2 separate regions of the Homo sapiens genome follow, and region 1 is linked to region 2. Evidence: promoter capture Hi-C in human tissues and cell types (Jung and others, 2019). All regions are on one chromosome and are shown on one strand. Each heading gives the region's core, a stretch centred on a gene start or on the middle of the fragment in contact. The rest is flanking DNA. Distances are from core to core; before and after follow the strand shown.

Region 1 (5,836 bases), core at 1,300-3,799, 520 kb before region 2:
AATTTCTAATGACTGGCAAAGTTTCGCTTTACTACAAACCCTGCCAAGTCTCCCTAGTACTGTCTCCCTCTTGGTGGCTTTCAGACTTGTCTTGCTCCTCACAGCCTCTCTGTATCTTCCTATGATGATGTGCTGCAACCTCCTGATCTTTATCATCCCCACACTAAGTCAAATCTTTCCTCCTGCCATTGCCTTGGGGAAGAAGTGGCTTCTAGGACTGGCCCCGCGATGAGAGGGCAATCTCCTTGGCTCCCGGTAGTGTTTCCACAGGGGCATACTTCACGCTGCTTTCCAACCAGTATGTTTCTTCAAACGTGCTTCACCAGAAATCCTGAAAGGGATTTTTACCATTTATAAAATGGAAAGTTTATCATATAATCCTTTAAACTGTAAAATATAAGATTACTGGTGACAATGACTGTTGGGAATTAACTGATTGAAAAATGAAGAGCATATACTGAAGATGTGAAAAGGTTCAGAATAAAAACCTCACAACAATTTAAAACAGACAAATGTCCCCACAGTCACAAGGACACTAGCAGACAGCACTGACATCCTAGCTGTCTGATGCTGAGAATTCAACAGAATGTGTGTGGAGCAGAAGCGCCTGTGAATTTCCAATAACTCCGCAGCTTACTAAATATACACGTGGTTTACGAATGTTGTTATTTGTTCCATCCAGAGAGTCTCATTTTACACCGTTCTGAATAAATTCTTTGGGTGTTCAAATTTTGCTTTGCTCCACTTCACCAAAGCATGCAAGGGTTTGATACCAAAAAAGAGAAAACTCTATCTTAGCTTCAATCTACCCACAAAGGATGATGGGGTAAAAAGTCAACGAAACTACCACTGGTAAAAGACAAAGGCTCATGAAGAGCGAGTTGGATTCTGAAGTCTGAAAGGATGAGGCCAAACAAACCCGGATTAGCCAGACGCAAGGGAGATGTCTTTTGAGAGTTGAGACTCAAACTCATGGGGAAGGGAGGGGAGTTGTAAACATTTTATAGAACAGAAGCCTTGCTAAGGGAAACCCTTCCACGGAAACTTACCAGGAGCCCTGGTAATGCTGAGCAGGAAGGCAGTGTGACAGGAGGGAATCTGAGAGGTCTGGGCCTGGGGCAACAAGGCTTGCCTGAGTGGGAGTGGGGGTGGGGGCTGGGGGGTAGCGGTGGATCTAACCCTGCAGAGAGGGAACTCCCCTGCGATGGGGGAGGGAGAAGATGATTCCTGCAGAGAATGTGGACTTAGCAAGCAAGCGTATGAAGTCAGGGTCAGATGCTGCAGTATTGAAGATGAGTGTGCACCGTGAGGAAGGATTTCAAGCACACGCTGCAGGATCAGGGAGAAGCAGAGAGGCTGCCGGAGAGGCCGGGGAGAAACTGGCTGGCCGAATTCTGGAATGGAACTCACAAGTCAGGTATTATAATTTTCTCCAATAACACGTAGCAGCCTTAGATAAGAAGGGGGCCTGGAAGACACTGGGGGAGGTGGGGGTAAGAGCCTAACACAGCCGGCACCTCAAGACAGCCCATGCTCACCAGCTCACTCAGTGAGCCCACTCCACCACCATGCTATGCTGTTCCCAGCACCAGAATGGTGAAGAGACAAATGGTCCCTGCCTATCCTCCTTGTACTTACATTCTAGGGTTGCGAAGAGCAGAGCAGACAAAACCAACCACAAATGTGCCTGTAAATGCATGCATATGAAGACAGTCTGACCTGTGGCAGTGAAGGAACAGAGAAAAAGGCAAGAGCCCAACCTGGGGAAAAGGAAGGGCCCAAAGAGCAGGGACAGAGAGGTGGGGGGCGTGGTGGGGTCCGACTTTTAACAGGTAGGGGGCAGGAAAGACCTGTGAGGAGATGAGCAAACACCTGAGGGTGCAGCAGCCACACACTCTGCAGACCTGGGGCTGGGGAGAGGAGCGCAAGCACAGAGGCTCAGGCAAGGAGCCGCCTGTCTCCTGGCAAAGCGAGCGAGGGGCCAAGTCCAAAGGCCTCAGCTTGAACTCAAAGGCCTTTCGTAACCTTGACGAAACCTTCACTCCCACTCAGCCTCATCTCTGAGGAGCCCTCCAAGTCTCTCCAGCCAGTTCCCTCGTTCCTTCCTTCTCTGCCTTGAACACGCCAGGCCCACCTCACCACCTCACTCTCTCCAGCTCTCCAGATTCTCCCACCACCTCCCTGCCCCCAGAACACTGCCCGGCAGCCCTCCCCAACTGAGAGTCACCAGGGTGAGGGAGAGGGGGTAGGAAGGCCACAGAAACATCATTTCCTAGGCCTCCTTCCAGATGAAAATGCTGTAGCCACAGCCTCCTACTCCAGGAAAAGGGACCACGCAGTTCTTTGCGCAGGAGAGGCCATGGCTTTACAAAGCGCTTCTTAAATGCTTCTGTGCATTCCAATCCCCTGAGGATGGTCTGATTCCGGATGCTGGGGTAGAGCCTGAGACTCTGCATCTCAGACAAGCCCCTAGGTGATGCCTCTGCAGTCCACAGTCTGGGCTGTGAGGGACTACAACAGGGATGGAGACAGACCCAAGGGAAGCCACGCAATTACTCTCACTTGGAATTTGGAGCCAAAACACAGGGGGAAGGCATCTGTCAGTGGGGGCTCCACAGCAGGGAGGGGAGGATGTGGAGAGATGGCTGGGGCCATGTGAGGTCACCAGCCTGGAGACAGGAGTAAGAGTGAGGTGGCCTCTGGGGGACCAGGAGGCAGTCCCTGAGGCCTGGAAGCCCCTTGGTTCATGCTCTGGGAGTCTGTGCTCTCCCTGTGGCCTAAACACATACACTCTTGCCCAGCTTCCCTTCAGCCAGCTGGAGAGCGAGGAGGAAGCACCCTGGCCAGACAGGAGCATGCCTGGGAGCCTCCCAGGAAGACACAACAGGTGTGCAGACACAGGTTCGGCTAGGGTGGAGCCCACCAACACTCAGCCAGAACATGCACCGTGGAAAGAATCCTGCTGCTGTGGTCTGCTTCTGACTGAAATCAACTGCTTTATCTGCTATCTATCATAACAAAGATAAATAAAAAATGAGATGTAGTCATGAAGCGGGAGTGCCTACCCTGGGTCAGGCCCTCTGTCAAGCAATGCAAAGACAGAGAAAAATAAGCCGAGGTCCCTGCGCCTCCAGAAAGAAACGCACGCTGGTCAGGGGAAACAGACAAAGGGCAAATAAATAGAAACACAGTCTCGGAAACGCACAGGGGACAGAGACTGACTTCCTTTCTACCTGTAATGTCAAGCTTTTCACTTTTTCTGCAATTGTTACAAGTAAAATACTATCTTTTATGAGTAACTTTTGTTGGTTGGCTCACTTAAACCATAAAGTGAAGTAAAAACATATGACTAAATAGGAAGTTTTTAAAAATCAGAAAACCTGGGAGTCAGAAGGCTCTTAAAGGCGAATATGGTCCATTCACCTGCTTCAGTTAAGACCACAACTACTTCATCCCAGTCAGATGTGTTTTTTTTAAAAGCCAGATTATACTTTAATCTATTTAAGTATAGTTTCAGCCCAACTGCACTGAAATCAACCTTTTCTGTTTTAGCCAACATTTTAAAAAATCTAACACAATGGTCTAATTTTTTAAAATTTTAATTAAAGGCCCATTTAGAAAAGTAACCAACTTTTGATATTCCCTGAGGTGGAACTTAAAACAGATTTTAATGTAACTGCTAACAAGGACTAAGCAAAAACTGGGAAGAAGTGTATGATAAAAAAATAGATAAATAAAGAGCAAAGGCTTGCATAAAATGTTCCAGTCACTGGATTATAATGCTTCGTTACATTTGATTTTTACCTTTTCGAGATTATACCTATGATACTGTATTACAATTTAACCAGTTATCACCTAGTCTTCCATAAAGGTTGGTGAGAAATGAAAATTAAGTAAACACAGTATTACATAAGTGCTTAGAAAAGTTTAACTGTGAAAACAATGAACAGATTTAAAAATATTCATTTGTTCATCCCTAAAAGTTTACAGAGCACTCACTGTGGGCCCGGAACTGTGCCAGGGGCCCTGGAGAGAATGAGGAGCAAACAGACATGGAGCTTACATGCTAGGCTTGTAGTGTTTTAGATGGTAATACAGTCTCTGCTCAAAATCACCAATATAAAAACATTAAAGTCCCAGCTACTTGGGAGGCTGAGGCTGGGGAATCGCCTGAACCTGGGAGGTGGAGGTTGCAGTGAGCCGAAATCACGCCACTGCATTCCAACCTGGCGACAGAGCAAGACTCCGTCTCAAAAAAATAAAATAAAATAAAATACTGAGGTCACCCTTGAAAACATAAGCCAACAATGAAAATTCAACTTCTTTCCCAAAAGGAAAACAACAATAATGAAACAGAATAAGCTACCTGAAAGAAAGCTTCCTCTTTCATTACTCTTTATCAAATTACTGTCTCTCACATATGTCCTTTTATTTCCAGGCTTATCACCACCCTCCAACCAGGCCTCCACTGCTGTAGCAACCTTTTAACTGGCTCAGGAATCCACTCCGCACACTGGGGCTCTTATCAGTGAGGATGGGCTGGTTCGTGCTGCAGTAACAAACAATCCACAAAAATCTAAGAGGCTTAAAATGAAAGTTTCTTTCTTTCTCATGCCACTTAACAGCTGTGTGGCCTTGGGTACACTACTGAACCATTCTGGCCCTCAGTCTCCTCATCTGCAACATGGGAGAGGTATCATCATTAAATGAGGTAAGAGACGAATACTCAGAACTGTGCCTAGGACACAGGACACACTCAATAAGCAACTACTATTGCTGTAATCGTTGTTATTCTTGACACCACAAATCTTGATCAGAAGCCTTCCTAGCTTCTGATCAAGGCTTCTGATCAAGATTTGGGGTATCAGAAATAATGGGATATGACTACACCCTATCATCTAGCCATCTGTCTCCCACAGTAGATCATGAGCTACTTGAGAACAAGGACTGCCTCTGACTCCACTGTTGAACTGCAGAGGTTCACAGAAAGTGGCACATGGTAAGCACTCAGAAAGTGCTTGCTGCACTAAAGGGAACGATGTTGAATAATAATCACTGGTACGTGAATAAACCCCACATGTGCTGGACATACACAGAGTCCCATATTAATGAGGGCACACTCTCAGATGCATCTGGCCCGCAGGAAACCTGACTAAAAGCACATGATGAAGATAGGGAATGTCATCTGTAGGTGGGAAAGATGGCTTTACAGGCCCAGAACCAAGCCACAGTTGAGCTAGGCCACCAGTACATGGGCTACTGCTCCCAGGGAAGTCTAAGCAAACGAAGGAGGATGTTCCACGTTGTGGAATTAGCACAAATCTATCTCCACGTGGGGAAAGAATGTAATTCAAGATTCCCCCTGTTCCTCCTTCCTTTCTTAGGGCCATCATTCCCCTGCCCCATGCTCTCCTGGCACACTGGCACACAACAGCCAGCATGGAAAAAACTTTCTGAGGGGATAGAGGTGCTCTCTGTACCTTGACTGGGGTGATAATTACACAGGTGCAGACATCTGTCAAAACTTATCAGCCATTCATTAAAAATCTGTGTTTAGCTGTATGTAAATTAGAAAGAGAGAGAAGCAAGCGATGGACAGTGCTGACTGTTATATGGTCCCTTAGCTCATGCCGGCAGCTGAGGTGTGACCCCATCCCACCCCATCCCCTACAAAACTAGAGCTTTATGAAGGGCAGGGTGGCTGGGAGGGAGGAGCTGATGCAGCTTGGTAAACTGGCCTCTGGAGGACATTATGAAACCTTGCTCATCCTCGTGCAGCCTCAGCTCCCTCAGGAGGCCTTTCCTCCTGCTTCATGGCACAAGAAGAGTACGGAAC
Region 2 (5,830 bases), core at 3,331-5,830:
AGATCAGCCCCAAGCATTTGGAGATAAAAATGTGTGCTGTCGGACACCGCTGTTACAATAGTGTAGAGGGATGGCATTAGGCAAACCCCGGGCAGGAACTCTGAAAAATGAAGCAAGACTGACCTATTAAAGCAATTGGATTGTGGTTGTTTTTTCTTTCTGCTAAACTTTGCTTGATTGTTGTTCTAAGTGTTTGCAAAATAAACCTCAGGGATAGAAGCGCTTAGGTGGAGAGCTGACACAATGCCCACATCTCAGGCTTGCCCACGTATTGGTATCACTGCTGTAATAATTACTACAACGTTATTGCCTTAACACATTTCCAGTTCTGTAGGTTAGAAGTTCAACTGAGGTCTTGCTGAGCTAAAGTCAAGGTGCAGGCAGGGCTGTGTCATATCTGGGGGCAACTGTAGGAGAATCTGTTTCCTTGCCTCTTCCAGCTTCCGGAAGCTGCCTGTATGCCTTGTCTTGTGGCCCCTTCCTCCCTCTTCAGTGCCAGCAACATTGCATTTACCTGACCATTCTTGTGTTGTCACATCTCTTTTTGACCACAGCCAGGAAATGTTCCCCGATTTTAAGAATTTATGTGATGAGATTGGGCCCACTTGGATAACCCAGGATAGTCTCCCTATCTCAGTGTCTGTACTCTTAGGCCCCATGTGGCAGCTCATGCCTGTAATCCCGGCACTTTGGGAGCCCGAGGTGGGCAGATCACTTGAGGTCGGGAGTTCGAGACCAGCCTGGCCAACATGGTGAAACCCTGTCTCTACCAAAAAATACAAAAAATAGCCGGGTGTGGTGGCACACACCCTTAGTCCCAGCTACTCAGGAGGTTGAGGTGGGAGGATGGATTGAGCTGGGGAGGTGGAGGTTGCAGTGAGCTAAGATCGTGCCACTGCACTCCAGCCTGGGCAACTGAGTGAGACCCTGTCTCGAAAACAAACAAACAAAAAATCACGTCAGCAAAGTCCATTTTGCCAGGTAAGGCAACATATTCACAGGAATTAGCACAGGAATTAGGGTGTGGGCATTTTGGGGCCATTATTCTGCCTATATACTTTCAATTCTATTTTATATTCTGAATATTTGTATACAGAAAAGTGCATAAATAATTACAAAATGCCAGCTTTATATATATATTACATACATATATTACATATATAACATATATATTATATATATTACATATATATATGTTATATATACATATATATATATTTTTTTTTTGAGACCAGGTCTCACTCTGTTGCCTAGGCTGGAGTGCAGCAGTGTGATCGCGGCTCACTGCAGCCTTGACTTCCCCGCCTCAAGCAATCCTCCCACCTCAGCCTCCTGAGTAGCTGTGACCACAGACGTGTGTCATCACACCTGGCTAATTTTTTTTTTTTTGTAAAGATGAGGTCTTGCTATGTTGGCCAGGCTGGTCTCAAACTCCTGGGCCTAAGCCAGCCTCCTGCCTGCCTTGGCCTCCCAAAGTGCTGTGGTTACAGGTTTGAACCACAGCACACAGCCTTTTGATTTTCTAACTTTTTTTTTTTTTTGAGATGGAGTCTCGCTCTGTTGCCCAGGTTGGAGTGTAGTGGCACAATCTCGGCTCACTGCAACCTCTGCCTCCCAGGTTCGAGCGATTCTCCTGCGTCAGCCTCCAGAATAGCTGGGACTACAGGTGTGTGCCATTACGCCCAGCTAATTTTTGTATTTTTAGTAGAGATGGGGTTTCGCCAGGTTGGCCAGGCTGGTCTCGAACTCCCGACCTCAGGTGATCTGCCCGCCTTGGCCCCCCAAAGTGCTGGGATTACAGGCGTGAGCCACCATGCCCAGCTGTGCAGCCTTTTAATTTTCATAAACTGACCACACCCGTGTAACCAGCCCCCAGATCAAGAAACAGAACATGCTCTGTAGCCCCAGAAGTCCTGCTCCTGCCCTCTTCCCATGCACAGTGTGATTTAGCATTTGTTGACATTAGAAAATTCTGTGTATATGTGAGGTCAGGAGTTCGAGACCAGCCTGACCAACATGGAGAAACCCCATCTCCATGAAATTAGCCGGGCGTGGTGGCACATGCCTGTAATCCCAGCTACTTGGGAGGCTGAGGCAAGAGAATTGCTTGAACCTGGGAGGTGGAGGTTGCGGTGAGGCGAGATCGCGACATTGTACTCCAGCCTGGGCAACAAGAGCAAAACTCCGCCTCAAAAAAAAAAAAAAAAAAAAAGAAAGAAAGAAAATTCTGTGTATAGGTAATACCTGGAGTATTATTGAAATACAAAGGAGAGAGCCCAAGCGATGTTTGTTTACTCATTCATTCAACAGATATTTTTCTGGCACCAGTCCTGGGCTGGGTGCCACGGGAAGTGGGATGAATTGGTTCAATGCTGGTCATATGACACAGAATACACGGAGGCAACTGTGTGCAGGAGGGTGGGGTGGGGAAAGGGGGTTTGTGAAGCAAATAAGAACACAATGCATTGGCCAAGCGTAACCAGGCAATGTGGGTCCCAAAGGCAACTACAGTTGCGGAGCAGAAAGGATTTCAGGCCAAGGGAACACTGTGGGCAAACGCATGGCAGTGGGAACAGGCAGGGGGTGCTGTGGGGTTTGGGGAGGCAAAGAGGGATGTGACTATTGGACTTGACAGCCTTGGAGCACTCGCTCATGCTGTCTGATCCACCATCCCCAGTTCTCACGTCCACCAGCCCAAACCCCAGCTCTCCAGACGCAGAACCAGAGGCCTCAGCCCTCATGCCAGTGTCCTCACTTTACAGACAGGGATGCAGGCCCACTGGAGAAGAGAAATACACGTGAGGCTGGTCGCGCACTTCCTTCATTCCCTCACTGCTCACCTTTCTACAGAGCCCTCCTGGGCCTGGCACTGGGGACACAGAGGGGTCAGATGTGGCTCTGCTCTGAAGAGTTCAGGGGCCAGTGGCACAAAACTGGGGCAGAGGCCTGAAGCAGGATCCAGATCCCATCTCCCTTCTGGGGCTCTGCCCAACCCCACGGCTCCTTCCTGCTGTGCCTCCCAGGAAGACCCCTGCGTCCCCATCAGACCTCTCCATCATTCTTCGTTTATGCAGCCTACATTTTTTTTTCTTTTCTTTTCTTTTTTTTTGGGGGGGGACAGGGTCTTGCTCTGTCTCCCAGCTTGGAGTGCAGTGGCGGGATCTCGGCTCACTGCAGCCTCCGCCTCCCAGGTTCAAGCAATTCTCCTGCCTCAGCCTCCAGAGTAGCTGGGATTACAAATGTGTGCTACCATGCCCGGCTAATTTTTGTATTTTTAGTAGAGATGGGGTTTCACCATTTTAGCCAGGCTGTTCTGGAACTCCTAACCTCAGGCAATCCACCTACCTCGGCCTCCCAAAGTGTTGGGATTACAGGCATGAGCCACTGTGCCCAGCCTGCAGCCCATATCTATTTATTGGGCATCTAATGTGTGCCAGGCAATGTTCTGGGTACTGAGACAACAGCTGTGTAGTAGACAGGCCCCTCCCTCGGTAGAGAAGAGAACAAGTGAACCCATAGGTATCCAATGTGTCGGGAGGAGGTAAGTGTCACCCTGTGAAGGAGAAACAGACTAAGGGAAGAGAGAGGGAGGGAAGGCGGTCAGGGGAGTTTCTTTGAGGATGTGACACTCGGGACACAAAGGAAGCAAGTTACACAGGAATGGGGAGAAGAGGACTCCAGACAGGGGAAAGGGGGACCTTGATGGGTCTGGGGTCCACACACAGGCTGTGAATGCAGGGAGTGATGTAGATTTAGCTTTGGAGAGACCTGGAAATCAATGCTGGTCTCTCCATCTCCCCCTGTTCTTGGAAATGGACCACCAGGCGTGAGGTTTGGGGAGGCCACTGGCTGCTTCTCCGGTGTCTTCCTGTATCAGCCACAACTAGCACACGGAGGGATGCTGGCCAGACCTGGCTTCATCAGGATGACACGCCCAGCTAACCTCATACCTCCCCCTTCATCAACACTCCCCCATGTTGGGGAGGCAAGGCAGGGAAAGGTCCCCCATGGTGCAGCTGAGGAAATGGAGGCGCAACACTCTGCACTGTGCCAGGTGCAGAGGAGGGGGGCCGGAAGGGCTTTGCCACGGTGTCCCCCAGGAGACCACCTTCTGGGAGCAGGTGACCTCTTGAGGGGTTCTGCGGAGGAAGTTCCCAGAAGTCAGCCGAGGGGACTTGGTGGAGGTGGCAACGCACAGGGCGGGTGACAAAGTACACATCCCGTGGGGTAGCAGCGGGGGAGGGGAGAGGTGCCCTGAAGGGGCGGCGGGAGGGGCTCAGAGGCGTGATCCCGTTGGTGGGGCGTTTAGGACCTTGGGTGGAGGCGGGACCCCGCGAGCGGTTTGAGGGAGGCTGTCCTGGGCATCCGAAGATTGGCGGAGACTGGCCGTTTGGAAGTGGGCGGGGCAAGGGAGGTCAGGGGGCGGGGCCAGGGAGCCGGGGTGGGTCCGGGCCGTTCAGAGGCGGGGCGGGAGGGGACAGGGGCGGGGCCGGGGCGGGGAAGGGGCGGGGCCGGACCGGGGCCGGGCCGGGCCGGGGCGGGGCGAGCGGAGCCGGGGGCGCGCGGGCGGCGGCGGCGCGGAGGTGCGCTCGCCGGTGCTGTGTTTGGCGGGTGGTGGCGGCGGCGGCGGCGACGGCGACGCGCACAGAGGCGGACTGTGGCTTCCTTGGTGCTCGCGGCGGGCTGCGGGCCGGGCCGCCCGCCCTCCCCGCCGCCGCCGCCCCCGAGCCTGCGGGCGGCGCCGAGGCCGAGGAGCGCTCGCTGCAGCACATGCTGCGTGCCATAGCGGAGGAGCGCGGCCGTCTTAGCCTGCGCCGCGAGGTCTGCGGCCTCGGTGAGTGGGACCCGGGGGCGAGGCCGGGCCGGGAGAGGTGAGCGTCTCCGGGGCCGCCTCTGCGCGTCCGTGTTTCTGTGCGCCCCGCGCATCTCTGTCTCTGCGCGGGTGTCGTGGTCTCTGGGTCTGCCTGGGTACCCTGTCTTCCTCCATGGCCCCCCCCCCACCGTCCCTGCATCTGGGTCTGTCTCTGCTTTCCGTCCGACGAGCGCCCCGCACCCCTGTGCCCGGGTCTCATTCGGCGTCTCCCCCTGTCAGTCCGTCCGGGTGTCTGTCTCATCTTCCTCCTTCTTCTTCGTGTCTCTGCGGGTCTTCTTCCTTCTCCAGGAAGCCCGCCCCGGGCCCTCAGCACCGCGGTAGGGAGTGTGGGCGTGGGATCTGGGTACACCCTTAGCCCAGCGCGGCAGGGTCGGGCCCTCGTTGGGCTCTGGGTGGACCTCGCTGCGAGCGTGCCCTGGCCACTGTCTCCTGCTACCCGAAGCCTTTGTCTTTCCGCACCCACCGGCCCCTCTCATCCCTTAGCTGTATCCAGGGACCTGTTGGGCAATGGCCCCCCGAACCCGCCCGCTTGGCTGAGGGGCAGGGCCTGCTGCCTCTCGGTGTGATTCTGGGCTTTAAGTCATGGATCTGCTGGGGGGCGTGGGATGGGGGTGCCTCGTATTGTTTGGAAGGGCCTGGGACTGCAGGTGTGGGTGGGGTCTCCCAGCCAGTGAGGTAATCCATTACTGATGGATCATGCCCAGACTGAAGCCCAGGAGAAGCCCCCTCTTTTGTCGTCTCAGGTTCGTCATTTTCTCCATGGAAAAGACCCCTCCCTCCTCCGTGCAGGGAATGACTTCATACCACATTGTCAGCCACCCCCCACCCCACCCCCAGGCTAGGCTGGGGATTTCTGAGGGGGTGACAGCATTGCTGAGTACGGAATGTCAGCCTTCCAGATTCACCCCTTCATTCACCGTTGGGGAAACTGAGTCCCAGAGAACAAGTGCATCCCCC

Evidence for each region. Contacts are between HindIII fragments. The study calls those that stand out against the background at their distance.
Region 1: a contact is called between a fragment that was not itself captured here and the fragment with the promoter of KIAA0930 in region 2, in 1 of the 25 tissues and cell types used here (dorsolateral prefrontal cortex).

What each region holds. Positions count from the first base shown.
Region 1 is chr22:45,759,556-45,765,391 of GRCh38, reverse strand. All of the region lies in intron 9 of ATXN10 (ataxin 10), which reads right to left. MIR4762 (microRNA 4762) reads right to left here and starts at 4,868; the gene lies at 4,794-4,868. RefSeq lists a silencer at 2,289-2,583 and an enhancer at 2,148-2,741. The HindIII fragment of the contact is 7,619 bases long and covers 1-5,836 here.
Region 2 is chr22:45,239,644-45,245,473 of GRCh38, reverse strand. It overlaps KIAA0930, which reads left to right and starts at 4,580. Exons shown (of 10, transcript NM_001009880.2): 1 at 4,580-4,834. The coding sequence starts at 4,771. RefSeq lists silencers at 4,257-4,456, 4,487-4,546, 4,707-4,766, 4,917-5,006. The HindIII fragment of the contact is 11,413 bases long and covers 1-5,830 here.